Regions from separate parts of the Homo sapiens genome. Here regions 2 and 3 are each linked to region 1. The links are contacts of gene promoters, found by promoter capture Hi-C in human tissues and cell types (Jung and others, 2019). All regions are on one chromosome and are shown on one strand. The core of a region is centred on a gene start or on the middle of the fragment in contact, and the rest is flanking DNA. Distances in the headings are between cores, read along the strand shown. Region 1 holds the start of ST6GALNAC2 (ST6 N-acetylgalactosaminide alpha-2,6-sialyltransferase 2). Region 2 overlaps UBE2O (ubiquitin conjugating enzyme E2 O). Region 3 has its middle 3.3 kb from the start of MXRA7.

Region 1 (3,449 bases), core at 669-3,168:
GGGAGGTGGAAGTTGCAGTGAGCCGAGATCACGCCTCTGCACTCCAGCCTGGGTAACAGGCTGTTTCAAAAAAAAAAAAAAAAAAAAAGACTAGAGTCCCGGCAGGGAGAGGCTGGGCTGTGTGTGGGGGCCAAGTTTGTAGGTTTGTAAGTGGAAGTTGAATAAATTACTAATGAATGATTCTCCTTTTCTCCATGAAGTAGAGGGTAAGGCACTTACTGAGAGCAAGGGCTAGGAGGGATATTTATGGGCACAGAGAGAAGGTCTGAGGAAATGTGAGAAGCCAGTGATCAGGGGATAAGTAACATCTACAGGAATTTTGACAAGTAAACCCATAAAGATTGAAATGAAAGTCGTGACACCATAAATTCCAAGTAGTGCCCATCTGCGGGGTAGCAAGATGAGTCTGGCTCTGCTGAGCAGTCTTGGGGTGAAGGAAAGAACTGGCCCAATGTGAGTGACCTCCAGTGACCCTGACTTGGTAGGAGTACTGAGACTGGATGGACTGAATGGCCATTCCTGACCACAGGCCCAGGCCCTGGGAGGTTTTCGGGAAGCCTTGCAATCAGACAGGTACCTGTTGCTGCACCCAGACTTCCTCGGATACATGAAGAACAGATTAGAGCCAAAGGCCCGTGACACGGTAGCCTAGGTCCCTCTCATCCTTGCAGCCTGCTGACAGTTGGGAGTCTGGGGCATGTCACAGCCTGCCGCATGTCACAGCTTGCCGAACAGTGGCCACTGAAGCACACCCATCTCATCCATCACTCACTGCCAGGGAGTGTTCCACTTAGAGAGCACGGGTGCTGAGCTTCCCAGCCCTTTCTGATGCTGGAGCCTGCTAGACCAGGGGTCCCCAATCCCAAGCCTGGTCCGAGACCTGTTAGGAACAGGGCATCGCAGCAGGAGGTGAGTGGAGGGGGAAGGAGCATTACCGCCTGAGCTCCGCCTCCTTCAGATCAGCCTCGGCATTAGAGTCTCAAAGGAGTGCGAACCCTTTTGTGAAATGCGCATGCCAGGGATCTAGGTTGCGGGCTCCTTATGAGAGCATCTTAACTCATGCCTGATGATCTGAGGTGGAACAGTTTCATCCCCAACCCCCCCACCCCCACCCCCCTCCGTGGAAAAATTGTCTTCCAGGAAACCAGTCCCTGGTGCCAATAAGTTTGGGAACCCGTTGTGCTGAACATTTCAGGTGGTCTCTCTGACTGGCCTCGTTCTGTGAAAGGAACTCAATGCGATTGAGGGGACTGGCCACCCTGGATGGTTACCAAATAAGCGCTGACAGCCTTAGCTCCCCCACGAAACCCATCACGGCAAGCTCCCCACCTCACCCCCTTTTCCCCCCTCTACCGCCAGCCCAGAGACTGAGCTGTCGGGTTTTGCTCCTCCACCCTGCCCGCCCCCTCCCAGCTGTCCTGGCGTCCGCAGACTGACAGATCTGAGGGTCCTTTGGAGGGAGCCGGGCACATCTCCTCCCGGCCGCCGCCCACCCGCCACAGAGTCTAGAGGCCGAGTGCCGGGCCCGCAGAGGGCAGAGCGCAGCCAGCGCAGCAGGTGGCGGCGTCTACCCGCGCCTAGCTAGCCCCGGACGGCGCGAGGAAAGCGCCCTGCCCAACCCGAGACTGGCGGCCTCCCGGGGCTGGGCTCTGGAGAGAGCGCAGTGGCAGGAGTGGCCGCTGCCGAAGTCCCCCGGGCAGGGGGCAGGGCCAAAGGAGCGCGCGCTCTGGGCGCCGGGACGACACTCCAGCCCCGGGGGACCCGCCGCCCAGCTCCCGAGGGTGCGGCAGCCTCTGGCCACTCAGCCGGGGCCGAGAGGGAGCTGCCGGGCGGGCAGGCGCCGCAGGCACCCGGCGGGCAGGGCGGGGCAGGGCAAGACGGCCGCCTCCGCAAGTGCCACCCGGCCCACCCGGTTCTCTCCCTTCTGCCTGGGACGTCAGCGGACGGGGCGCTCGCGGGCCGGGGCTGTATGGGGCTCCCGCGCGGGTCGTTCTTCTGGCTGCTGCTCCTGCTCACGGCTGCCTGCTCGGGGCTCCTCTTTGCCCTGTACTTCTCGGCGGTGCAGCGGTACCCGGGGCCAGCGGCCGGAGCCAGGTAGGGGCTGCCGAGCGCAGAGCGGGAGGGCGCAGGGGCGACCAGGGCGCGGGGAGGGTCCCCAGCCCAGGGCTCCCCGGCGGCCCGCAGCCCTCAGCCCAACCTCCGCGTGGACCCCTCTGGGGCAGCTCTCAGCGAGGACTCGGCCGCGGCCCTTTGTCGCCAGAACCCTCTCCCAGCCTTGACCTCGCGCTGCCCGGACCCCGCGGCCTTTGCCTGGGTCCAAGGAAGACCTCGCCCCTGTGCACTGGCGACCCGCCCCGGTGCCCCTTGTTGGTGAAGTCCTCCCCGGCCTGATAAGTACACTTTCTATTGTCGAAATCTGGCTGGGTCCCCGAAGCAGATAAAAACTTCCTTTTTTGTCGGGAACTCTCCCTCGGTAACGTCAGATTCTGCTTTTTGGGCAGGGGCCCAAGTCTCCGGTTTCCAACTTCGCGGGGACCCTCCGTCGGGCCGCGGCCAGTCGCCTTTCCCGCCCGCTGCGGTCTCTGTCCGCCCCGCGCCCGCTCCCTTCTCCCCGGCTTCCGCTCGCCGTGTCTGGATAAGCCCAGTGCGGGCGCGATCCGCGAAGAGGCGGGCGCCCGAGGGAAAGAGGGGTGACTCCTGGCTCCATCCGCGTTCTCCTCCCCGCGCCGCGTCCTGCGCTCCACTCCCTCCTCCTCCCTAGGCACTTTCCTGGGTGTCCCACGAGGAGAACCTGGGAGCCGGCCTCTAGCAGGTGGTGGTTCCGGTGACTGAAGAAGCCGCAAAACGATTTCGCTTAGCTTAAGAAAGGCGGACCAAGCCGTGCGAAGTCTGGGTTTGGGAGGAGGGAAGGGCCCGGCAGCCTCAGGGAGAGGCCTCCAGCCCCAGCCTTTCCCTTCCTGGAGCTTTTCCATCTGCGCACCCCCTACCAACCTTGCTGGGGGGCTAACGGGATGAAAACAAAATAAGTATCTGGTCTCCACAGATGCTGTCAAAGGATACACCAAAAGTTGCAGAACAATGTGAAACAGCTTGCCAGTGATCAGGAGTCCAGCACTCTTAGAACAAAGGGTGCTTGCCCCGCCACGGTGACTTAACGCCTGTAGTCCCAGCACTCTGGGAGGCGGAGGTGGGAGGATAGCTTGAGGCCAGGAATTCGAGGCTGTGAGCTGTGATTGCACTACTGCATTCCAGCCTGGTTGACAGAGAGAGACCCTGTCTCAAAAGAAAAGGAATCCTTGTCACTTTTATGTAAAGATGTTTAAAACACAAAGTATCTCAATGCAAAGAAATAATACATGTTTGATATAAGCCTGGGCAACATGGCGAAACCTCGTCTCTACCAAAAATACAAAACTTATCCGGGGATGGTGGTGCATGCCTGTGCTTCC
Region 2 (3,449 bases), core at 317-2,816, 140 kb after region 1:
ATACCTAAGCTTGAATCTTCTCAAAATTAGAGCATTTGGGGTCATTTTTAATTTACCTTCTTTGGCCCTCATTCTAACTTGTCATCAGTTCTTTGAGAGGCCTCTTGCATCCTGTGCCTGCATTTCCCTTTCACAACCCTGGTTTGCTCTCTGCTTGCCTCATGCCTGCACTGTGTAGCCTTCTCCCTGGTCTCCCTGCCTCTAGTCCTCCTTCAACCAGTGAACAGCGCTGCCGCCAACTGACCTCCAAAGGGCTGACCTCCCAAGTGATCGCCTGGATTGTGTCAGGACCCAGCCTCTGATCATGCCTTGGTTGTCATTCAGGGCCCCTCACCTACACATCCTGCTCTATCTCCTGCCTCTTCAGTTGATTCCAGCCAATCTGACTGCTTTTCCCCAACTCAATTGTGCCGTTCCCTTCCTCTCATGCCCCATGGCACACCCACATTCTCTCCTGGATGGGAAGCTCCTTGAGAAACAGAGACAGCAAATCCTAAAGCTTGTGTGCTATCACGCACATGCAGACTCTTGGGAAACATCTTCATGAATGACCAGTTTGCTCCCTCCCACTTACTACAAATAGTATTCTTAGTCTTCTTCCAGATGCCCTGTGGTCTGTGCTGGAGCTGTATGGGCCCCTTACTAGACCACTCTGTCTCCCACCCCCCGTACTAGGTGTGTTGACCATGTACAGTAATTTATTGCCCAAGTTGGGTTCTTTTGAGAGTACTATGAATAATTACTCCAGGACTGGGACGTATGGGCATCCTAATACTAGGAAGAGCAGATTAATCAGAATACACCATATTGTAGTTACTACTTTGGCAACTTCCGTCGCGGGCTCCCCAGGCAGACTACGTGCATTGTGGACTAGGCTAGAGCTAGCTAGAGCTGGTGTCACCTGTGGTCGAAATGAAGCTGCTTCTGGCTGCATTTCCCCTGTAAGAACCCCGCCTAAAGCACTTGACAAATGGCAGATTCCACACACGTGGGTTTCCTGAATGGTTATCAGCACCCAGTCCTCACCTTAGGAGGATGGCTAAGTACGAACGAGGCTCTCTATTGGAAAAAGAATGCCCCACCCGACTGCAAATGAATCAGGAACGCAGCTTAGGCTATGCACTCTGCCTGCACCAAGACCCTTGGGGGCGGGGCCTGGAGTTGCAGTGGCTATGCCAGGCCTATTACTTTGAAGGAGTCAGGAACCATCTATTGAAAGTAGATATAACCACCCCTGTTTATCAGTGGAGGGGGAGGGGGAAGTGAAGAGAGCATGAATAAATGGATTCTAATCCAGCACTTTTCCAAGGTGAATGCCACATGCCATCACCTAGGGTCTCCTAATGCAAATTGTCCTAATTCCATTGGGCTGAAGAATCTGCGTGTCTAACAAACTCCCAGTGACATTGATGCTGCTGGCTGGGACTGTCTTTTGAATTGCACTTATATGGGCCCTTCCAAACCTCGTTGATGTCAATGGGTTCAGTTTTAGTACGTCTTTGGTTCGAGGCTTTTTCTCTCCCCTCTGCTTATTCTTCTAGTGCCAGTGTTAATGAACCGGGAATTGTCCAAAGGTGGGCTGCAGGAGGGGCAGGAAAGGGATGAGGCGGACTCATCATCCGCCAGTGCTTTAGTGTTAGAAAGGCTTGCCTCTTTCTTCCTCCCCATTGCTTGCTGGTGGTTATTATTAATGCACTGCTGTTGCTAAGAAGTTTCATTTGATTTCATTTCATTTTAGGATGTAAATATGGTAGTTGTTTTGAGTATAACACACCCAATCCAAGAGGAGAATGATTATTCAGCATTTTAATGAAATTGCTGTCTTTTATCCAGCCAGTGTCAATGGATTCCTGCTGTGAGCCAGGCATGTTAACTCACACTTTACCTGTGTCATCTCACTTCCCTTAAAGTGGCCAGTGCCCCATTTTAGAAAAGGAAAGACTGAAACCCAGAGAAAGCTTATAACTCACCAAGGCCACATAGCAAGTGGGAGGCCAACCCAAATTCAAACTTAGGCCAGTTTGTGCTGCCCGAATGCAGGTTCTCTTCACTGACTACACGGGTGCCCCCTGCACTGTGCTGGGTGCTGTGGGGAGAGAGATACCCCCACACAGGCCCTGCCCTCTAGATAAGGGGCCAGCCAAACTTTCTGTAAAGGGCCAGATGATAAATGTCCTAGTGTTGCAGGCTATACTGTCTCCTTCACAACAACTCAGCTTTGCCATTATAGCACAAAAGCATTCAGAGGCAGTAAGCAAATGAATGGGCATGGTCATGTTCCAATAAAATTTTAAGAAACAGGCAGTAGGCTGGACATGACCTGCAGGCTGTAGTTTTCCCACCTCTGCTCTGGAAGGATCCTGAAAAATAGAGATACAATGTGAGCCACAGCTGAAAAAAGTAAATAGAGGCCAGGCATGGTGGCTCATGGCTATAATCCCAACACTTTGGGAGGCCAAGCCAGGCGGATCACTTGAGGCCAGGAGTTCGAGACCAGCCTGGGCAACATGATGAAACCCCATCTCTTCAAAAAGTACAGAAATCATCTTAGCGTGGCAGCTTACGCCTGTAGTCCCAACTACTCAGTAGGCTGAGGTGAGAGGATCGCTTGAGTCCTGGCGGTCGAGGTGGCAATGGGCCGTGATCGTGCGACCCATTGCCCTTAAGCCTAGGCAACAGAGCAAGACCCTGTCTCAAAGTAAAAAAAACAAAGAGATGAAATTAATTTTAATATATTTTACTTAACCCAATGTATTCAAAATATTATATCAACATATAACTCATATGATAAGTACTAATGAGAGACTGTGCGTTCTTTTTACCATAGTGGCTACTGGATTGGGTAGCACTGCTTCAGAGACTTAGATAGGAGAGAGAACCATCGCTGTGATCTCCTACTCAGCTTTTTTCCCTCATAGCACCTGGCATTACCTGAGATTATACTACTTCATGTCCTGTTTACTGTCCCCAGCCGGAAGGTAAGAGAAGCACAGAAGCATCTCTGTCACTGCTATATCCTCAGTGACTGGCCCAAAGTAGGTGCTAGGAGAGATTTGTTTAGTGAGCACTTGGGAAATGGCAGATTGCACACATGCGAATGAGTGGAATTAGTGGGTGAATGACTGATGCACATAAGGGAGCGAGAGCCTAGTTCCACCTGCAGGACACAGTTGAGATGCTGAAGGATGTGGTGGGGAGCATTAGGAGATGCTGTCATGGAGGTGCCTTTTGAGTTCACTCTTGAAAGATAAGAGCTTGGAATAGCAGCAGTGGAGGGCAGGGCGTCCTGGGCGGGAAGTCCAGTGCGCATAAAGGCAAGAGAGGCAGGAAGTTCATTTCAGTGGTTTCAGACTTAGGCCTCAGAACTCCTTTAACTTAAAAATTATTGAGGACCACAATAATTTTTTAGCTTTGTGAGCTTTTATTTGTATGGGTTGTTTCTATTAACA
Region 3 (3,449 bases), core at 564-3,063, 130 kb before region 1:
GGTGTGCAATGTGCTCTTACCACAGAACTTAAAGTATGAATAGGCTCCATTCTTCCGCACCATGGGATCCATAAGAAGTGCTCACTTTGCGAGGTACTCTGAGATTAGCGTTCCCCATTTGTTTGACCTACAGACGTTAAGTGGGTGACTTGTGTTACACACGGGGAGTAAATTCAGAGATGGCACCTGTAGTCTTTGCAGTCTGTTGATACTTCTAAATAACTAACTGGATGACTTTTTGGGGATTGACCAGCAGATGCCATCTCTTGCCCTCTTGATTCACCTGCTTGCCTTAATTTGTCCCTAAATTCAACTAAACTTCAATAAGAGGGGTTGTCAAGGCCATGGGGCGCACTTGGAAGCACTGCCTGGGCTGGAGCGTTGGAGGCATTGGCAGGCAGGTGGGAAGGAGCTCTCACTGCAGTGTTCACAGGCAGGGAGGCTGTGTGTGGATGTGTTAGAATTGTGTGCTGTTGCCTCTCAAAATATCCACTAGAAACAGGTGTAACCAGGAAAATACAGGTCTCTGCTCACTGTTATTAACAGACTGTCATTTCCTGACATTGGGTCATGTGGCTTTACTCTAGGAGGCTGGTTCTCTATTTTTGTCTTAGTTCAATTTTCTGCATCCTCAAATGCCAACCCCAGTATGTGGCTGGGTAGGTAGAACTGTGCTGCCTGCCTGCCATGGGGGCTGCTCTCCCTCCTTACCCCCACGCCCACAGCCCCCTTGGTTCTGTGGTGGGCACAGGATGTGTTTGGGTGTGAGTAAAGTCAAACTCTGAATGTATAATCTCTTGGTAGTAATATCTGAGTGGTGTTGCTACTCCTGCTTTTTAAAAAGACTTTTCTTGCCATCTATAAAAAGCTTTTTTCTTTTTCCCAGCATTGCTCCTGTGCTGCCACGCTTGCCCTTTTTCCTTACCTTCCTTTCAGTTTTCTATCAACAACTCCTCTAAACTTCAGTTTAAAATAAAAAACAGCCCAAAAAGGCTCTTTGCCACCAGGGGGCGTGGTAGGACACGTTGCCAGTGGTCTGGATAGGGGAGCAGAAATTTTGAATTTTAAAAATTAGCCACCAAGGCCAGGTGCAGTGGCTCACACCTGTAATCCCAGCACTTTGGGAAGCTGAGGCAGGGGGATTGCTTGAGTCCAGGAGTTCAAGACCAGTCTGGGCAACATAGTGAGATCCCATCTCTCAAAAAAATAATAATCTAGAAAATAAAGATTAGCCACCCAGTTTTCTTTCTCCAGATGCTAAAGTTGATTCCTGTTTGATAACAGTATTCCAGAAATGAGGGGAATAACATATCTGATAGGCCCAAGTCAGCTCTGGATAGTACAGTGTCTGGATAGTACAGATTCTGTGCTCCTGGGACATGCTTTGTTTATTCCTGCCAGGCCAGGGATTCAGCAGCCCTATTCCCCAACCCCCGTTACTGTCTCTGTGGGCTAGCCAGGCTGTCCGTTATGTAAGCACAACAGGGGCAAGGTGGGGAAACCGTGTGTGGAAAAGGAGTGGAGTGGTGGCGGGTGGCCAAGGTAGACTAGGAAGAGTGGGTACCCAGAGACCACTTGTTCAGAAGTTAACTCCTCTTCCCATCTGGCGTGAGCTACTCCATTGAATGGTGCCAACAACAGTAAAGTGAAGGAGATAATGTTAGATTATTTTCAGGGATGATTCTCCAAGATGACAGCAGATCTTAAAACCAAAGAGCTGGGTCCTGGAAGAAGGGATCTTGGATTATTAACTTCTGATGGAAGGACCAGAGTGGGAGAGAGAAGAGTTGGGGACCTAGAACATCAGGAGGACCCTGGGTCTTTGGGGATGAGGCTTCACCATCAGCTGGAAGAATCCATGCTTCACACACATGCCTCTGCCATTAGTGGTACTGGGATGTTTAGGGTGACATCCTTGAGGGGAGAGCCACTGAAAAGAGGGACATTCACATTTTGCTGTATTCTTGCAGCTGTCCGTGTCTTAATAATTCAAGCGTTCAATAGGTGTTTGAGGGCCAGGCACTGCTCTTGAGGTGCTGGAGATAACGGTGACAAGCCCAGGTCCCTGACAAGCTCCACAAGCTTAATGGACAGTGAATGTGCGGCTGTTGCGGCTGTTCACAGGGCCGCTGGTGAGGGCAGGTAGAAGAAAGTGCAGACCTTCTTAAATGCAGGTGTAACGGATCTACATGAAAGAGCATAATTAACACCAATGTATACTTAAGGTAGTAACAGCTTCTTCATAAAGTAGCAAAACTAAGGATCTGTGGGAAGGTTGCTGGTGCAAATGCTTTATAAGCTTACTAGAGACTGAGCCTTGGATTTAGGACTTTAGACGAGTATAGGATGGAACAAAATTTTTGCAGTAAATGTAAAAAATGCTGTGTAGGAGGAAGGCGTATAAGGATGCCCCAGCTGTAGGTTCTTTAGATTGTCTGTAGTATTTCCACGAGTAAGTTGTTTTTGATGTGTGTACTGGTATTGCTGGTAGATTTGAAGTGGAGTCTGGCGGCTTCTTCCACACTCCCCTCCCACTAGCTTGTGTCAAGATGTGACATCCTATGCAGCAAAACTAGGTGAGCTTGCACCCCCAGGCGGTGGCTCTCAACTTTGTCTCATTGTTCAGAAATTTCGGCCAGGCGCCGTAGCTCACCCCTGTAATCCCAGCACTTTGGGAGGCCATGGCAGGTGGATCACTTGAGGTCAGGAGTTCAAGACCAGCCTGGCCAACACGGTGAAACCCCGTCTCTACTAAAAATACAAAAATTAGCCAGGTGTGGTGGCACATGCCTGTAGTCCCAGCTACTTGGTCAACTCAGGCAGGAGAATCACTTGAACCCAGGAGGCAGAGGTTGCAGTGAGCTGAGATCAAGCCACTCCAGCCTGGGTGACAGACCGAGACTCTGTCTTTAAAAAAAAAGAAATGTCATCTAAGCCCCAGTGAACCTCCTGGGAGGAGAGCTAGCCCTGGCCAGCTGTCTCCAAAGTGACTGGATGCTACAGAAGAACTGGGACTGTCTTCTGCACACTCGTGCCTCCTGGAGTTGTCAGAACACTGAGCAGTCTCCTAGTTCTGCGTCCGTCTAGCCATGGGGTCTGCCATGAAAGCCTGTGGATCTGCTATTGGGTTGGTATTTTAAACTTTCACTTGGGTGAAACTTGTTCATCATTTTAAATAAAGCAACATGATTTGGAGTTGTGTTTTTGGCATTGTTTTGTCCTTATTTTCTTTCTTACTCATTTGAAAGTCAACAATGTACTTTGTCAGCAGAACAGGACTTTAAAAAAATGTATTTACACTTTAAAACAATGGGATGGAGCACAAAATTAAGGCCCTGGGCCAGGAGCATTGATGCACACCTGTAATCCCAGCTGCCCAAGAGGCTAAGGCAGGAGGATCACTTGAGCCCAGGATGTCGAGGCTGCAGAAAGCTATGATCATGCCTGTG

The links. Contacts are between HindIII fragments. The study calls those that stand out against the background at their distance.
Region 2: a contact is called between a fragment that was not itself captured here and the fragment with the promoter of ST6GALNAC2 in region 1, in 2 of the 25 tissues and cell types used here (H1 embryonic stem cells and dorsolateral prefrontal cortex).
Region 3: a contact is called between a fragment that was not itself captured here and the fragment with the promoter of ST6GALNAC2 in region 1, in 1 of the 25 tissues and cell types used here (spleen).

Annotation. Positions count from the first base shown.
Region 1 is chr17:76,584,329-76,587,777 of GRCh38, reverse strand. ST6GALNAC2 (ST6 N-acetylgalactosaminide alpha-2,6-sialyltransferase 2) reads left to right here and starts at 1,918. Exons shown (of 9, transcript NM_006456.3): 1 at 1,918-2,094. The coding sequence starts at 1,970. RefSeq lists enhancers at 251-931, 932-1,613 and silencers at 1,482-1,771, 1,822-2,161. The HindIII fragment of the contact is 21,800 bases long and covers 1-3,449 here.
Region 2 is chr17:76,439,588-76,443,036 of GRCh38, reverse strand. The region is part of intron 1 of UBE2O (ubiquitin conjugating enzyme E2 O); the gene reads left to right. Among named protein-coding and RNA genes, the nearest start is that of UBE2O, 12 kb to the left of the region's middle. RefSeq lists enhancers at 1-44, 1,469-1,986. The HindIII fragment of the contact is 6,251 bases long and covers 1-3,449 here.
Region 3 is chr17:76,712,582-76,716,030 of GRCh38, reverse strand. It overlaps a transcript of JMJD6 not described here. Among named protein-coding and RNA genes, the nearest start is that of MXRA7, 3.3 kb to the right of the region's middle. The HindIII fragment of the contact is 3,371 bases long and covers 128-3,449 here.